Regions from separate parts of the Homo sapiens genome. Here region 2 is linked to region 1. The links are contacts of gene promoters, found by promoter capture Hi-C in blood cells and fetal thymus (Javierre and others, 2016). All regions are on one chromosome and are shown on one strand. The core of a region is centred on a gene start or on the middle of the fragment in contact, and the rest is flanking DNA. Distances in the headings are between cores, read along the strand shown. Region 1 holds the start of PHETA1 (PH domain containing endocytic trafficking adaptor 1). Region 2 overlaps SH2B3 (SH2B adaptor protein 3).

What was found. The method cuts DNA at HindIII sites, captures the fragments that hold promoters and counts their contacts. A CHiCAGO score of 5 or more calls a contact.
Region 2: a fragment that was not itself captured here is called in contact with the fragment with the promoter of PHETA1 in region 1 in 4 of 17 cell types (megakaryocytes, M2 macrophages, M1 macrophages and 1 more); the score reaches 7.1 in megakaryocytes.

The regions. Positions count from the first base shown.
Region 1 is chr12:111,367,534-111,371,272 of GRCh38, forward strand. It overlaps PHETA1 (PH domain containing endocytic trafficking adaptor 1), which reads right to left and starts at 1,562. Exons shown (of 3, transcript NM_144671.6): 1 at 1,379-1,562. LINC02356 (long intergenic non-protein coding RNA 2356) reads left to right here and starts at 1,728. Exons shown (of 4, transcript NR_187522.1): 1 at 1,728-1,787. RefSeq lists a silencer at 1,153-1,732. The HindIII fragment of the contact is 8,438 bases long and covers 1-2,133 here.
Region 2 is chr12:111,448,506-111,452,489 of GRCh38, forward strand. It overlaps SH2B3 (SH2B adaptor protein 3), which reads left to right. Exons shown (of 8, transcript NM_005475.3): 8 at 1-3,118. It overlaps ATXN2 (ataxin 2), which reads right to left. Exons shown (of 25, transcript NM_001372574.1): 25 at 3,709-3,984. Among named protein-coding and RNA genes, the nearest start is that of SH2B3, 45 kb to the left of the region's middle. RefSeq lists an enhancer at 20-89. The HindIII fragment of the contact is 1,518 bases long and covers 1,917-3,434 here.

The sequences.
Region 1 (3,739 bases), core at 312-2,811:
TCACATGCTCCAGGCAAGCCACCCAAATAAAGGGGCTGATCTTGGGGTCTCTCCACCCCATCAAGGCCAAAGGAATAGCAACTTCCCTCCTGCTCAGCAACCCTCCTCCCCCGACTGCCTAGATAGAGGCCAAACTGGTTCAAGGTCACCAGCAGGCACAGGACCCAGCTCTGCCCATGACCCCTGCCTCCACCAGAACTGGGAAGACAGGAAGCTGCAGGGGCACAGGCGCCAGCCTTGCCTGGAGCGAAGGCCTGGCCCCTGCCTTATCTCCCCACACTGTTTTCCAAGAAGTTCAGAGTCCACTGTGGGCACTGCTGCTGATTCAACAGCCCATGGCCAGACAGGAAGCTGGAGGGAGCCTGGCCCAGCTCTGCTCCCAAGGCAAAGTTCCTGCCTCCGCAGGTCCAGGCTGGAGGACCTTGGACAAGTCGTTTCACCTTTCCAAGTCTCAGTGTCCTCATCTGTTAAATTGGGCTGTGTGGCGAGGGTTCATGAGCTAAAAGAAGGAAAACCCACTGGCAAACTATGGGAAATGGATTGCAAATATTAGCTGCTGTGAGTCGGAGTTTTTTCTCAGCCTCATCTGCAAAATGGTGACGTTAACTTCCATCCCTCTAAGGGCTGAGTGAATTGACTCCTGAAGAGTCATTTTGCAAAATACTTGGTGGGTAGTGAGCTTTCAGGGAAAGAGCTGTCAAAAAGGCAAATAATTCATCCAAGATCTCCAGGGGCACAGCTGGCCCCGGAACCCAGGTCTCCTGGGAGACTGAAGCATGGCATTTTGGCACTCACATCAACGAAAAGAAGCCAGTACCGCAGGTCCTGGGGTTGAATCCAGCTGCCCTCAGTGTCCCCCAGCAGCGGGCGTGGGGAAGAGGGTGTGGCAGGCACAGGCTGAAAAACATGTGTGCCAAGAACACTAAAGAGCAGCCTGGCCGTCACCGCCCCAGCAGGGACCCCAGAGACACGCCAGCACCGCCGTCCAGACACAGGCAGCCCCCTTGTCCACGGCAGGGGCTGCTGCTCCAGGTGTGGCCCTGCTCCCGGCTGCTCTCTGTCCCTTTGTGTGTTGTGCGTGGGAGCTCTCTTAAGTTCCTTAAAGGACAGCCAGAGCCCCAGATGGGTGATCAGCGGCAGAATGGGGGGCTTATCCGCAGTCCCCACCAGCGGCAGACGTCCCTATGGGCTGAGAGAGGGGAGGGTGGTCATTGGCCAAGTTCGCCTCGGCAGCTGGAGAAGTCACCACTGGTGCGGAGTCCCAGCGGGGAAGATCCCCGCAACGCGCTCTCCAGGTGGCCGGGGGACCCCGAGGCCCAGGGCGGCCCGACCCGGGTCCCATGTCCTCGTGCATGTCCCCCCGCCAGGCCCGCCTTACCTCGCAGCGCAGGCCTAGGGCGGCGACGGGACGGGAGGCGCGAGGTTGCGGGGTGGCCCGGCCATGGTTCGGGACTGGCCCGGTGGCGGCGACGGCGGCGGCAGCGCTTTGTCTCCTGGGCGGCCGGGCCGGCGCAGCCGCGGGAGAGCGCGGATCCGACGGAAGGAGGCGGGAGCAACCGGACAGTCCGCGACCCACGGGCGCGCCCCTTTAACCCTTCCCAGCCTGCTCGCGCCGGGCCCGCCCCCGCGTTCTTCCCACCTCCCGATTGGCAGGCCCCGAACCGGCACGCCCCCGTGAGCCCGCCCTCGAAATCACTCTTAAAGGGTCCGCTCCTGGCTCGCGACTCCCCAGTTCCCTAGCCCAGAAAAGCGGATTGGAGCCCGGGAAGCTCATTGCGATTCCAAAGGTAAGGACTGGCCCAGGTCGTGGATTAGCCTGCAAAAGCATTTGGGGGTCCTGGGCGGGCCATTCGCTGAAGTCCTAGGCTTAAGTCCGAACTCCCCCCAGGACGAGGCAGGAGGATTGCCTGAGCCTAGTAGTTCAAGACCAGCCTGGGCAGCAGAGGGAGACCACCATCTCTACAAATAATAAAAATATTTGCTAAACCTGGGTTGCCAGGTTTAGCAAATTTAATGCCCAGTTAAATTAGAAAAATAGCTCTAATTCCTGAAAAATGTGTGAGTGGCAGAAAAAACAGCTGAATCCAGGACATTTGCGTACAGCACTGTTCCATACGGACAGGGCGCCTCGCAAGCTTCCCCTGGCTCCAGGTGAAGAGAGGAAGTTCTGGAATTAGGCAGACTTGAGTTCGAGTCGCACTAGGCCACTGAACACTGTGTGAGCTTAGAGAAATCATTTCACTTCTCTAAGCCTCCGTTTCCTCATCCGGAAAATAAAGACCATCATGATATGTAAAGTGCACGGCACAACAGAAAGCTCTCAAGAAATAGGAATTGCTGTTGTTTTTGCCCTGCCCACCTCCTTGAACCCTTCCTTCCTGTTCCTGCCGCCTCTTCTCCACCACCCGCCACCTCCCAATCACTATTAAGTCCTGGCCTGAAAGCAGGAAGAACAGGACAGACCAGGGTCAGCTCTCCATTGTACAGCCTCTCACTAAGCGCCTACTGTGTGCCAGGCACTGTACCTGAACCAGGTAAGCAGGTGCAGCCAGGAATCAAGACAACACAAATGAGTTCTGGAAGTGATTCATGCTAGGACTGTACGCTAAGGCAATGGGGCAGAAAGCCTGGGAGTGCAGTTTTTTTGTTTTTGTTTTTTGTTTTTTGTGTTTTTTTGTCACCCAGGTTGGGGTGCAGTGGCACAATCACAGCTCATTGTAACCTGAACTCCTGGGTTCAACCGAGCCTCCCACCTCAGCCTCCCAAGTAGTTGGGACTACAGGTGTGTACCACCACACCCGGCTAATTTTTTTTAATTTTTTGTAGAGATCGGGGGGGTCTTGCTATCTTGCCCAAGCTGGAAGTGCAGCTTTTAGACAAGGTGGTCAGGGAAGGCCTCTCTGAGGACAGACCTGGAGGAATGAGGGAGGGAGCCATGTGGTTATCTGGGAGAAGGAGGTCCCAGGCAGAGGGAACAGCAAGTGCAAAAGCCCTGAAATGGGGCCATCCTGGGCATGTTTGAAGAACAACGAGGAGACCAGTGGAGCCAAGTGAGCAATGGGAAGAATAGTAGGAAAATAGGTCAGCTGGCTGGGCGCAGTGGCTCACGCCTATAATCCCAGCACTTTGGGAGGCCGAGGCAGGTAGATCACTTGAGGTCAGGAGTTCGAGACCAGCCTAGCCAACATGGTGAAACCCGGTCTCTACTAAAAATACAAAAAAAAAAAAAAAAAAAAATTAGCCAGGCATGGTGGTGTACACCTGTAATCCCAGTTACTTGGGAGGCTGAGACAGGAGAATCACTTGAACCCAGGAGGCAGAGGTTGCAATGAGCTGAGATTGCACCACTGCACTCCAGCCTGGGTGACAGAGCAAGACTCTGTCAAACAAAAAAAAAACAAAAACAAAAAAAAAAACACAATAGATCAGAGATTATTGGCAAAGCCAGAAAGCCAGGTGACCTAGGGGCTTAAGGACCAGAGGAAAGATTTTGCTTTTACTCTAAGAAGAATGAGGAGCCATGGGAGGGTTTTGAGCAGAGGAGGGACATGGTCTGTGTTAGATTTAACATGGTCCCTGACTGCTATGGGCAGGGAATGATAGTAGAAGCCAGGCGATCAGGGAGAACACTACTGCAGTAGTCCAAGCAAGTGATGGTGGTGGCTTAGAGTGGAGCAGTGGAGGTGGAGAGAAGTGGTTAAGTATAGATATATATTTAATGGATATATGTATTAGTCCG
Region 2 (3,984 bases), core at 1,426-3,925, 82 kb after region 1:
CCTTATTGTTTACAGATGTAGTTCTTGTTAGAGGATGCCGCTAGCTCCTGCCCGGGGTCCCTATGCCCAGTCCCCGTTACTCTTAGAGAAAGGAGTTGGGGTGAGGGCCAGAGCTGGCAGTGGAAACTTGTTCTCTTTTTCACTGACACTGTCACAGCGGATGACAGACTTTCTACGGGGAGGAGGGGGGGATCATCAGGAAGCCCAGAACACTAACAAGCGGTTCTCCCATCTACCGTCAGTCCACATGGCAGGTCTGCTGTGTCCACACCACAGATGACCACATCTAATCCTGCTTCTACTCTCAGCTTTAGGACAAAAGCTCTGTCAGAGGCACAAGCTGAAGGTCAAAAATGATTTAAAACATTTTACCTCAGACTAATTTCTTTAAAGGATTCAGGTTCAAAACTTAACCACTGCTTATTTCAGTGCACTGTTTCAACTAACACCCATGCTATTTTTGTAGTCAGAAACAGCTATGCAAACCCTACCTAATTTACAGTCTGAGCCAGCATGCTGGCTTGTCTACTGCATCCTCGGGACAGTCACCTGCCACTGAGTGGCCACTGTCCTTCCTAAATGTCAAGAAGTGAAGTATGTCACCCTTTCAGGGAAATTCAGGCAATTACTGAAATAGGAGGGTGGCAAGAACAGTTCTATCCTGGTGCCTTACGAATAAAAAACTGGATTCTGGTTTACAGCAGCTTTACAGTGATAGTTAAATTAACTGGGGCTAGGGGAAGAGCAAGCAAAAAGGGAAGAAGGACTCCTAGGCCCTTTCTAGTAAATCCTTCAGCAACAAGGCTGGCTTGGTGCCCTCCAAGCATCTAATGGCTTATTAAATTATCCCACAAGTGGGTTTTAGGCTCCTTTTTTGAGCCAAAATGGAAGCTGGGAATCTGGTGCCATAACTAATGAGAAACTCCTTTAATAGCCCACAATCAGTGTTCTGTTCTAGCTGGCTACTGCTTCACTGGATTGAGAATCTATCTATCTCCTTGCACACATGGGCACACACAATCTCCACCATCCAGGGAGGTCCTGAAGTCAAATCTCTATCTATACAAGTGATACAATTCATAGGGGGCTGGCTCCTCCCAGAACCTGTCTGGAGGCTCAGAAACGGGGGCAGTGACAGTGGAGTCAGCTGCTCTTGGGTGCCAGCAGAGCCATTCAGTACAACCCCCAGGCTCACAGCAGTGGCTTCTAGGAAACTGGGAGTTTAGATCAGCTTTACAGATACATCGATCAGAGGCTAAAATGAAACCTCAGCCTAAAACTCATAGGACTGACTGCCTGGGAGGAGGGTTAGGTCTGCTTCTTCCACTTATACTTAGTCTCTGTGCTCCAAGAGGTCAAATTTTTGCTTCTAGAATTTCCTTGGGGTCTTTCAGAGGGTGGGGGAACAAACCCCTATGCACTTTTCTTTTTTTTTTTTTTGAGATGGAGTTTCTCTTGTCAACCGGGCTGGAGTGCAGTGGTGCAATCTTGGCTCACTGCAACCTCCACCTTCCTGGTTCAAGCGATTCTGCCTCGACCTCTCAAGTAGCTGGGATTACAAGCACCAGCCACCATGCCTGGCTAATTTTGTATTTTTAGTAGAGACAGGGTTTCACCATGTTGGCCAGGCTGGTCTCGAATGTCTGACCTCAGGTGATCCACCCGCCTTGGCCTCCCAAAGTGCTGGGATTACAGGCGCGAGCCACCGCGCCCAGCCTACACCACTTTTAGTACCAACACTCTTGGGTGATTTCATGGACCCTAAAGCAGACCTGACACTGATCCAGATTTGCAGTCCATTTTTAAGGACACCTGTCTTTATTTCCTCAAAGTCAAGCAGCTTTCTCTGGAAAATGAATGCTAATTAGTGTGAACCAAAAGAGTAAGTAAGAGTCTGAAGTTTTTTTAAAGGAGAAAGCTTATTATGGAAAGTCACTGGTCCTCCCCTCCGCACAGGAAAGGTACCCAGTAGATAATGAACCAAATTAAGTTCCCTCCCTCCAGCCAGAAGTTAAACATCTGGGATATGACGTCTTCATGCCAGGGGCACTCATTTCTTAGCAGCCTCTCTACATACATCTCTCAGGTGGTGCCAAGAGGCACACCAGGTAGAGCAAACTTAGCAGCTCTGACTAACAGGCTGCAAAGTGCAAGTTCAGATTCTGTGGCAGAGATTTGGAAGGCACCCACCTCCAGACTGCTTCCCGTCCAAGTTACCAGGACAGCTCAAAAACATGCTGACAGAAAACTCCCATGGCTCTAGGAAGAAGTGACACTAAGCCAACACCTTTCTTTATGTGGGAGCAGAATCAGCTGATGAAGGGGTGGGCAGCAGTGTGGGGCAGGCACCCCACTGGCTGCAGCTAGCCCACCATAGGCACAGCACATCCCACCACTCTCCTTCCAGTCCTGACCAGGCCCCAGCCGGCAACTTCTACCGAGAGCCATGGCTCAACACCAAACTGGACAGTAGACATCATGATCCCTCCAGTTAGCTCTAATTACAGACCCCACCAGTACAGCTTGACAGCTCCCGGCACCATCCCTTCCTTCATCTGACTTATTGAACTTTTACAAACTAACAGTCACCAGCACCAAAGAATTAAGTCAACTAACCTGCCTTGAATTTTAGACCAGCAATCCATATGGCTTTATCTGGTATAAATCTTCTGCCTTTGATCATTTCTGGACCGTAGGAAAAAGGAATAGCAATCATTAAAATCTTGGGCCAGAGAACACTATTTTTACATAACAGTTTCTTAACCTAAAGTCAAGGCCTTGGACTCTTCCCTGAGGGTTGCCTGAGATTCCTTCATGCTTTCTATTCAGGACTAAGTCCCTTACTGCAAATGTGTTAGCTCTAACATCTCCCACAAGCTAGAGGAACTTGCGAGTATATTAACAAGGACACATCTGACATCCTGTGTTTGGTTAGAATATACAGCACATTGTGATAACATAAAGTGGATTCATCTTGTATCATTATAGGCAGAAGGTATTTGGCAAATTTTTATGTATTGTTTTATGTACTGTACAAGTAACTTATTCTTGAATAATGCAAATTTTGCTATAATGTACAAATTGCTATATGTGAATTAAAAAGTTTTCAGAATCTTGATTTGCTGTCATAATATTTAAAGGCTCTATTAAGACCATGGTGTCTCTACAAAATCCTTGCCCTGCCCAAATACTCGCTCTTCCCTTTGTCCTCCCCGTTGCAATCTGGGAATACTAACAAATGCTTATGAGTCCATCCATGTCAATAAGCAGCTTTGTACATCTTTGTATCTTTTCAGCCTTCATGCCCTCTGGATTTCTTTATTGCAATTTTTTTCTGAGTGTCTCCTGCCCCCTACTGGTAAAGTAGAAAAATGCCCGAATTGGGAACTTCCAGCTAATGACACTCATTTTGGTTCAGGAGATATTAAAAAGGAAGCTTACAGAATCGGTGTCAGCCCGAGGATGTGGAATTTCAGTGCTGCCCAACTCTGGCCAACCTTCCTCCTCCTGAAGCAGATCTCTAATCCACCAAAGAGAATAGCTCAGTCTTGTCTTTTTCTAGAGATACCTTGAACCAGAACTAAGGGTGAAGAAGAAAAATCATTTCACAGCTACCTTCCGGGATATTCAAAATGCACCCTTAGCACACCTGCTTTGATATTAAGTATCCTACAAAGAAGTAGCTTATACAGACACACACTAACTTGATCAGTTTTTAAAACTTTTTTTATTTTTTAAATTTTTTTTAAGTTTTTATTTTATATTATCTACAAAGTAAAAGTTTTTCCCTTAACTTAAAAGTTGAACCACTGTAGACAGTGATCACCTCATCAAACTTGATTTATAAATAATAATCCGTCAGTTTGACGGTAAGAATTTACTGAAACTTTGTCAAGTTTAGTAAAAGGGCGTTCCAAGTCTTGATTTTTTTTTTTTTTTTTTTTTAGCAGTAATAGCAGCAAGAATCACTCTTGTTACTTCTTT